Linked DNA regions of Homo sapiens: region 1 is linked to region 2. Evidence: promoter capture Hi-C in human tissues and cell types (Jung and others, 2019). All regions are on one chromosome and are shown on one strand. Each heading gives the region's core, a stretch centred on a gene start or on the middle of the fragment in contact. The rest is flanking DNA. Distances are from core to core; before and after follow the strand shown. Region 1 overlaps TIAM2 (TIAM Rac1 associated GEF 2). Region 2 holds the start of CLDN20 (claudin 20).

Region 1 (4,383 bases), core at 92-2,591, 62 kb before region 2:
AATTCTAATTTCTCTCCTGTAATATCTACCCTGACTTCCTTATCTTCTTTTTAAAAAATTGAATAGAATTAACATACTATACAATTTACCTTTTACAGTGTACCATTCAGTGGTTTTTAGTATATTCACAAAATTGTGCAACCATCACTACCGTCTAATTCCACAATATTTTTATTCCCTCAAAAAAGAAACCTGACACCCATCAGAAGTCACTCTTCAAGGCCAGGGTCAGTCCCTCACGCCTGTAATCCCAGCACTTTGGGAGGCTGAGGTGGGCGGATCACAAGGTCAAGAGATCGAGACCATCCTGGCCAATGTGGTGAAACCCTGTCTCTACTAAAAATATAAAAATTAGCTGGGCATGGTGGCGCACACCTGTTGTCTCAGCTACTTGGGAGGCTGAGGCAGGAGAATCACTTGAACCCAGGAGGCAGAGGTTGCATTGAGCCAAGATCGTGCCACTGCACACCAGCCTGGTGACAGAGCGAGACTCTGTCTCAAAAATAAAATAAAATAAATAAACAATAAATAAATAAAAATAAAAAAAGAAGTCACTCCTTATCCTCCACGCTCCAACCCCCGCTCCTGGCAACTATGAATCTACTTTCTGTTTCTATGGATTTGCCTATTCTGGGCATTTCATATAAAAATGAAAATACAATGTGTAACCTGTCATGTCTGGCTCCTTTCACTTAGCATAATGTTTTCAAGGTTCATCCATGTTGTAGTATGAATCAATTCTTCATTCCTTTTTATGGCTGAATAATATTCAATTTCGCCTTCTTTTAATCCAAGAGAACCGTAGCACTTACTGAAAAGTGTCCTCAAATTTTCTTTTTTCCGTAGAAACTTTCTCTAATAGAATCTCATGTGTACTTTTGTCTAGGTTTCTTCTCAAAGTCTTTAAATAGAACTCCAGCTAAGTAGTTCCTAAGGGCTTTGAACTTAAATTCAACTTTATTAAAATTCTTGGAGTGTTTGAAGTACGGTATTGTCTGTTACATGCCTGAAGGTAAGTAAGTGTGGCATTGGGGTGTCCTCCCAGTACTAGTGGGTGTCCGTTTCCTTGCAGTGCCAAGACCTTGGCTGAAGATCTCTCTCGTCATTGACTGTGTATTTTTCACTGGGGCTCATAAAACCCCATGGGAGGCTCTGCACCTTCTTTCTTTGGGTTAAGCACGCTGCCTCAGTCACTGCCATAGCCTGCCTGGCGAAGGAAGATATGGGTACATCTAAACGCTCTTTTTCGTTGTTCTAAGAAGGAGTATTGCAGTCAGTGTGGAGGTGGCTGGCAGCACCTTTCTACTGTGAGAACATCTGCCATGTTCCTTTATGTATTTTTTCCCACTCTAAGGACATTTATCACAAGACAATTGAAACAGATCCTGGCAGCCTGCTATTAAGAAACATTTACTACCAGCATTTACTTTACTGCTCTCTGTTTATTGCCGGTGTTAGCTTGCATTGTCAAAAACATCACCAATTGGAATGTGACCTCAGGTTAAATGGACTTGGAAGATTTATGAATCTTTCTAGCACAGTATTTGTGCTATAATAGAATTTATTTCTTTGCAAGCTTAACAATAACATTCAGACTGCTGCTTTGAATTTCCCTGACATGAGTCATAACAATAAAAAAAAATGCAAAGTCCCAGATATGGTCAGAAGAGAAGACTGATTTTTATCTATATTAAGAGTAGGTAATAATAAATGGTGATCTCTTTGTTAATGGTGCAGTTTGGGACTTGACTCACCTTTGAATGTGGTCAACTCAAGAGTTACTTTTTTTTTCCCTCTCAGTTATTTCTATTATTTCATTTAAATGCTTTGTTTTCATTCTCTTTCACTGACTGATGATCAGAAATATTTGCCTGGATGGCACAGTACAGCTAATGTCATTAGTGAAAGGTGGCACAAACCACTGCATTTTAAAGTAAAAGTATGAGTAAAATTTTGGACAATCTGTGTTACTTAAAAATATGCATTGCTATACAAAGTTTACAAATTTAAATTTATTTAGAAGAAATTGTTTTAAAAGCAAGGTCTCACTCTGTCGCCTAGGCTGGAGTGCAATGGCACAATCACAAGCCACTGCAGCCTCTACCTCCTGGGCTCAAGTGATCCTCCTGCCTCAGCCTCCTGAGTGGCTGGGACTACAGGTGTGCACCACCATACCTGGATAACTTTTTTTTTTTTTTTTTTTAATAGAGATGGAGTCTTTCCATGTTGCCCAGGCTGGTCTTGTGAACTCCTGACCGCAAGCAATCCTCCTGCCTTGGCCTCCCAAAGTTCTCGGATTATAGGCATGAATCACCTCACTGGCCACAAAGTTAAATTTAAAAGGAGAGATTCTGGCTGGGTGCCATAGCTCACGCCTGTAATCCCAGCACTTTGGGAGGCTGAGGTGGGTGGATCACTCGAGGTTAGGAGTTTGAGACCATCCTGGCCAACATGGCAAAACCCCATCTCTACTAAAAATACAAAAAAAAAAAAAAAAAAAATTAGCCGGATGTGGTGGCATGCACCCATAGTTCCAGCTACTCAGGAGGCTGAGGCACGAGAATTACACCTGGGAGGCGGAGGTCGCAGTGAGCTGAGTTCACGCCACTGCACTCCAGCCTGGGTGACAGAGCAAAACTCTGTCTCAAAAAAAAAAAAAAAAAAAAAAGAGAAAGATTTGCAAAGATTTTCTTTGCAAATGTTCAATGTGCTGTTTGTACTGTGAGAACTGGCTGTGAGCATTAATGCAGAGTTTTGTAATAGTGGGTGAAGCTTGAAGAATTGAAAAAAAGTCTTAATTTTCTATTTACATAATGCTATTATGCCTAGGCTGGCAGCTTTGATTTACCCAAATTTTAATCTTTTCTTAAAATTACATTTGTACTTTTTTTAAAAAACAAAAGATACATAAAATGAAGGAATTGAATAGGGTGATTTCTGAGTTTCTTTTCTGATCTAAAATTCTTTGATTCTCTACGAGTTTTTCATTTATGGAATTGCATAGCATAAATTCTGAGAAACTGAATAGGGAAACTGAGTAAATCAAATAGATTAATAGCATAATTCAAATAAAGTACGTTATTTTTTCTGGATGTCAGTAGATAGTAGAATGTAAGTATTAAATGTCAGAGACGTGTAACTCTAATGCCAAAGTGGATTATGTAGTTGAAAACTTAATTAAACCATTTATTATTCACTTGTAACTACTTTGACATTATTTTTTAGATTTTTTTCAGTCTTAGAAAATTATTCTTCTGTAGTTTTCACATCAGAAGGGGTTTCTAAGGATTAATGATTTAATCAACTAAAAACATTTTTTGAGCCTGAGATGAGAGTCCCACTGAAATACACTTCATTGTTATTTGGCTGCTATATTTTTAATTGCTTTAGTGAGTATATTTTATCTTTCTTTGGGAAGTGAGGGAAACTAATACTCAGAGGGTGCAAAATGCTATGGGTTGGATGCATTTTGCATCCTCTGATGCCACTTGATTCTCTTAGAGGTAAAGTTGAGGTCCTGGCCACGGGGAGGGGCAGAGGCAATTCTCAGAGGTGGTGGCGCTGACCACCAGGTGACATTTTGGAAGTTTGTGTTTCTGTTTTTGGTCATCATAATGATTCCAGGGATGGTGACGTTTGGTAGTTGGGACATGGTTGCTGGACATCCGGCAGTGATCACGTTAATCCCATACATTGCACATTGTTCGACTGGACCTTAATGGAGGTTAAAAAACATGCATATAATTATCTGAGCTAGGAATTACCTCGATTTTACAAAGAAATGCAAATTATTTTTTCCCCACAGCTATAGGTACTTGGAATTTTCTGGGAAGATGGCAACCCAATAAATAAAGGAAGTACATCCTTTGTTTTGCTCAGAACTTTGCCAAGAGTTTTGTCATTTTGGAAAATCATGTCCCTGATGGTCATACCACCAAGACACACTGGCATTGGTCTCTGGTGAAGCTTGGGACAAGGCCTGTAGAGCCAGTGGCTGACAGCTTCCTCACGGCTTCTGGAGAGGTTCTGGTGCCATTTACATATGGAGTATAATTCAAACAAAGTATTCAAACCATAGTTTTTAATTATAAATTACTTTCCGTTTATTTTTCTTTTTGTCTTATTTTTAGGGTAGTATATTGCTTTTGGAGAAACTATGAAGGTAGATTATATTAAGAATGATTTTTATTTCAGGATAGTAAAAGTATATATTATCAAAAAGGACCCTTTGGATATGAGAGTATTAAAAATCAATGTACTATAATATATGCTTTGAAGCATGAAAAACATATTTTAAAAACAATTTTCATTCTCATGCCCGATACTTTTAGTCTATTTCAAATGAATCCTCAGTCCGCATATTGAAGCACGGCTTTTTCCGAT
Region 2 (4,530 bases), core at 1,904-4,403:
TTTCGGTAGACACTGATTAATCAGCTGGACTGAATTCATGAGTGTAGTCTGAAAAGCCACAGAACTTTCTAGTAGCAATTTTAAATGCCCCGAAAGGCATAGGCAGGACTGAAATTGAAAATGGAAACCATCAAAAAATGTCACTGTTTGATAGTGTTTAAGCTACTGCCAGCTGTGGAGATTCTTTAATTGTCAGAAGATAAAACTTTTCAGGCATATCTTATAAGAGATTTATACCCTGATTTGTTCCAAAAATGGACTCATGGTGATTCACAAGGACAAATTCAAATACCAAAGGAAAAACATTTAAAGACAGAGGGAAATGGATTCAAAACAGTAACTACACACACAAAAATGCTAACGGAGACCATGGTCTAGGAAATGGGAAGTCTCGTCATAATTGACAAAAGCCTCAGTCTCCAGGAATTGTTAAACTTGTTAATGAGGATCTCATACAGACTCAACAAAAGGCGAAGAAAGTACGGCAATTTAGGAGGTGTGGGCTGCACCACTGCTTTTCAAAAGGAACTCCATTGTTGAAATCCCATAGAGGTTGTCATTTTCTCCTAAGAGGACTTGCTTCTAAAGATCCTTGTGGCTACATAATTCCTTAAACAGATGAAAATGGGAGACTGGCTTTTCTGGTTGTGTTTCTTTTAGGGTAGAAGGAAAACAACTGAATATGATGTGAGACTTTATGGACAAGAAAGTGAAAATAAGCTGTGCTCAGCCTCACACAGCCTGACGCGCTTGTGGGAGGTGCCTGTGGTGCCTGAGCTGTGTCATCAAGGCCCCGGACCCCTGAGAGCTTGCACCTCCCTATTTAAACAATCAATGAGCCTGTCCCCGAAGGTTTCAGGTCAGCTACAGCTGCTCCTACTGGATGGAATGGGAAATAGAAGGCTTTGGTGGTAAGGGGCGGTGTGGGCTGGCGCATGCTGAGAATGTGCCAAGCGGCCTTTCCACACCCCAAATGCCCACCCCCAACATCCATCAGCCTTCTTGTGAAGTCCAGCAGGCTGTTCTTGTGAAGATTCTATGGTGGAACAGTAGTTATGAACAGTGACTTAACTAAGATGTCAAATGCTCTTAATAAATTTTAGTAAGTTTTTTGAATTGTGTGCTATATGTTGTTTCATGTTTCCTCAAGTTTAGTAACAACTACCTCTTCCTACAGGACTTCCCTTAGACTTTAACAAAACGCACCATAGAACAGTGCCCAGCTTGGAGAGGTCTGTGGTCATCAGGGAAAGAGGGACTGAAGAAGACAAGGGGCTGTGGAGTGGATGCAGGGTGTAGGTGGGGTAGATGTACTGCTATAGGGAGAGAAGAAAGGTGGTTTCAGCTCAGGGCAGTTCTGGGGAAGGAAAAAGAAGACCTGATCTATGAATGGCAGAGTGCAGGCAGCAGCCCAAGACACACTCCACTGACTTCAGATGTCAGGTTCCTTCCCACAAACTCTGAACTATCCTGCCTACCTCGCCTCCTCCTGATTTGTATAGAGAAGTGGTCCCAACTGTCAGGCATGTGTCTGGCCACTCTCTACACCTCGCCAGCCTTCTCTCACTGGACTCTCCATTTCCCTTTCATCCCCTGAGCTTCCTGGCACCCTTGTCCCTGCCTCCCGTTCTCCAGGACTCATCTCCTGTAACCCTTCAACTCCAGTTCTCCCAGTGACAAAGAGCCAATTCTATCAATTCTTACTAGCAGCCTGCTAGTCTCCAGAAGAAATACTCTTAGCAAAATCTGAGATAAAATCTAATCCCTGCCTAGGCCTAAAACCATGAAATATTATCAAAACTCTACATAAGGCTTACAAACTATTAAGACCAAAAGCACAAATACAGAGATAGATGCACTCTCTTCCAGTACAGAAACTGCCACTTTCAGCTTCCTTAGATTTTAAATTTTGGCCTCATCTTTATTTGCCTGATTTCATTCCTTTGAGATATAGTTGGTATTTGCAAATACAGGAAGTGTCTAACTTTTGCTTGATTTAAATAAAGTTTTAAAACCCTGAACAAATATAGTAGTACCCCATGTAAACTATAGCGTCGACTTCTAAAGTTTGAATACAATTCCAATACTCTGTTAAGTTGGCTTATATTATGTCACGGCTAAAAGAGAATTCCCCTCACAAATGCAGTTACTATTTAGTGGGAGATTCTGTAAAACTCAGCGTCAACAAAGCTCTTCCAGTTATGTCTCCTGCTTCTGGGACGGCCAGGACCTCTCCTGTACCACCCCTTCCTCTCCCTTTCCCCCAAAGGCACCTTTCAGAATTACTCTGAATGATGGAGCCCATTTTTTTCTAGAACTATAGGAAAGCTGCTTGGTAACTATGGTAACGAATACAAAAATGTTTTTTACTTATAATTGAATGCTTATTTAAAATTACAAGTATTATTTTTTCTTCCTTGAGTTTTAAGTCTATTAATGGGTTTGATTACAAAAAAGAAATCAGTACAAAGGCATCAGAAGTACTTAAAATATTCTAGTTTAATGCCGCCAGCCTTTTCCAAACTCAGTCCATCAGTATACCAAAATGACCTACTAAAATTTCAAATGAAAGGATTTAAAATGAATTTAAATATTTGCCTTTCTAACCCTATACGTCAACGCTGTAACAAGCTAAGACTGTTTCTCAGTGTTAGCAGCCTTGGCCATAACAGGCCCGAGGCAGATGTCCTAGTTTCCAGGCCAGGGTGTCTAGGACGTGACTGGTTATCAGCTCAGAGCAGCACTTGGAACTCACAAGGGACCCGGGCTAAGGAGATATTAAATCTTAAATCTTAGATATTAGATATTACAACTGAGAACTGTAATCAACATGATATACAGAGGACACTGAAGAGACGTACAACTCAGTTCCTGATGATTATCATATGCCCAAAAGCTAAGTCACGACCACATGCACAGACACAGAAACAATGCTGGCCACTGTCTACAAAAGGGTCTTCATTCAACACTCTCACGGTGTTCAAGACCATTAGAGGACAAGATAGTGGAGATGAAAAAATGATGAGGAAGTTACTATGTAAATAGCCAAGACACAGCCATAACTTAAGACAACAGAAGGGCTAGTGAAAAAAAAAAAAAAGACCACAGGGAATAATCAGTAAGACTTTAAAGAACAACATATAAGAAGGATTCAAAGTTCGAAGTGGGATGATCACGGGCAGACCTGGGTGGTTGGGAACAGGAAGCATATGGCATCTTGCAGGCTATAGGCACCACAAAATGGAACGCAGGAGGACAGGGGCTTGGGAGAGCCACTTCACTGTCGGGTAAAACAACGGAGCAAGATGAGTGCCTCCGGATGCTTGGTTTCCCCACCCTCCAGTGTCTGCTTGCTCTTCAAGTACCTCCACCAAGCTAATGACAGTCCACTTTAGGACATCACGGGCCTCGAGGTTACAACTTTCCCAGGTAAGGAGAATCCCAGGTAGAGGCAGCAAGTCACTGATGCCTGTGATATGATAATTATGCATGTCATAGAAAAAGAAAATACTGACAAATGTGAATGTAGATCACATTTTCTGGAATTGGTTCACTCTACCTGTGATCCATGTCCAAAAGCCAATTTAAGGAAAGAATTTCCACTGTAAAACCTTAAAGCTGACAGCATTCTAAGTATTTCAAACCAACTGGTTCAATAAAGATCAACTACACGGTCAGTACCTATCCTAAAGTTTACAATTTGTGTTATTGTAACAATATTTATTTCTGCAGAAGTTCTGTCCTCACCCTTTTTTCTTCCTACAGATCTTTGTTTTTTTCTCTTTCTTCTTGGGATCATAAAAAAAGAACAGATTTTAAACAGTCACATAGTGTTTCCTCTCAGAGCAGATGTGGTAGGAAGAACTGAGGCCAAGAGAATGACAGCAAACTCAGATCACAAGAGAAATAAGACTAAGAAATGTGGTGAGGGGGATGAAGAGTTTTTTTACTGTGTAAATTATGTAAATGTACATATGTATGTATGTAAATTACACCTATTAGTAATAACAACAACAAGATGAGTCAGTGTCTCTTGGTCCCAAGAGATTAAACAATTTCAGGGAGATGCACGTGTAATCCTCAAGAAAGCACAAATGGAACAAGAACTGACAATTGTTGTATAAAGGTTTTCTGTTACATTTAATCTGGAGTTCCTGGATGATCAGAGGGAAAAGACCTTCCTAAAACTAGGCCTTTTCCACAAACCACGCCCTTGGTGTCTGTGAAGCAGCAGCATCTGGACGTGCCCTGTGTTTCCTGTCCCGGGCTGTGCTCCCGCTTGGGTTTGTGGATGTGGCAGGAGCTGCCTGAGGCAGCTTCGAGGCTGCCCAGCCGGGCCATGGGTGTGGCAGCACATTGGCAACTGCCAGGGTCTGGACCCCAGCGCTGCAGGTCCTGAGCAACTCCCGTCCCTCAGAGAGAAGACAGGACCTCAGAGAGGCTCTCAATCTAAACAAACTCAGAAGGCACTTGATAAATGCTGCTAGTAATATTATTAAAAGACTGAGAAATAGAACATGCATACAAATA

Evidence for each region. The method cuts DNA at HindIII sites, captures the fragments that hold promoters and counts their contacts. A contact is called where the count stands out against the background at its distance.
Region 1: a contact is called between a fragment that was not itself captured here and the fragment with the promoter of CLDN20 in region 2, in 1 of the 25 tissues and cell types used here (dorsolateral prefrontal cortex).

Annotation. Positions count from the first base shown.
Region 1 is chr6:155,200,403-155,204,785 of GRCh38, forward strand. All of the region lies in intron 14 of TIAM2 (TIAM Rac1 associated GEF 2), which reads left to right. Among named protein-coding and RNA genes, the nearest start is that of CLDN20, 61 kb to the right of the region's middle. The HindIII fragment of the contact is 4,056 bases long and covers 1-3,369 here.
Region 2 is chr6:155,260,860-155,265,389 of GRCh38, forward strand. It overlaps CLDN20 (claudin 20), which reads left to right and starts at 3,154. Exons shown (of 2, transcript NM_001001346.3): 1 at 3,154-3,429. The region is part of intron 5 of TFB1M (transcription factor B1, mitochondrial); the gene reads right to left. The HindIII fragment of the contact is 11,103 bases long and covers 1-4,530 here.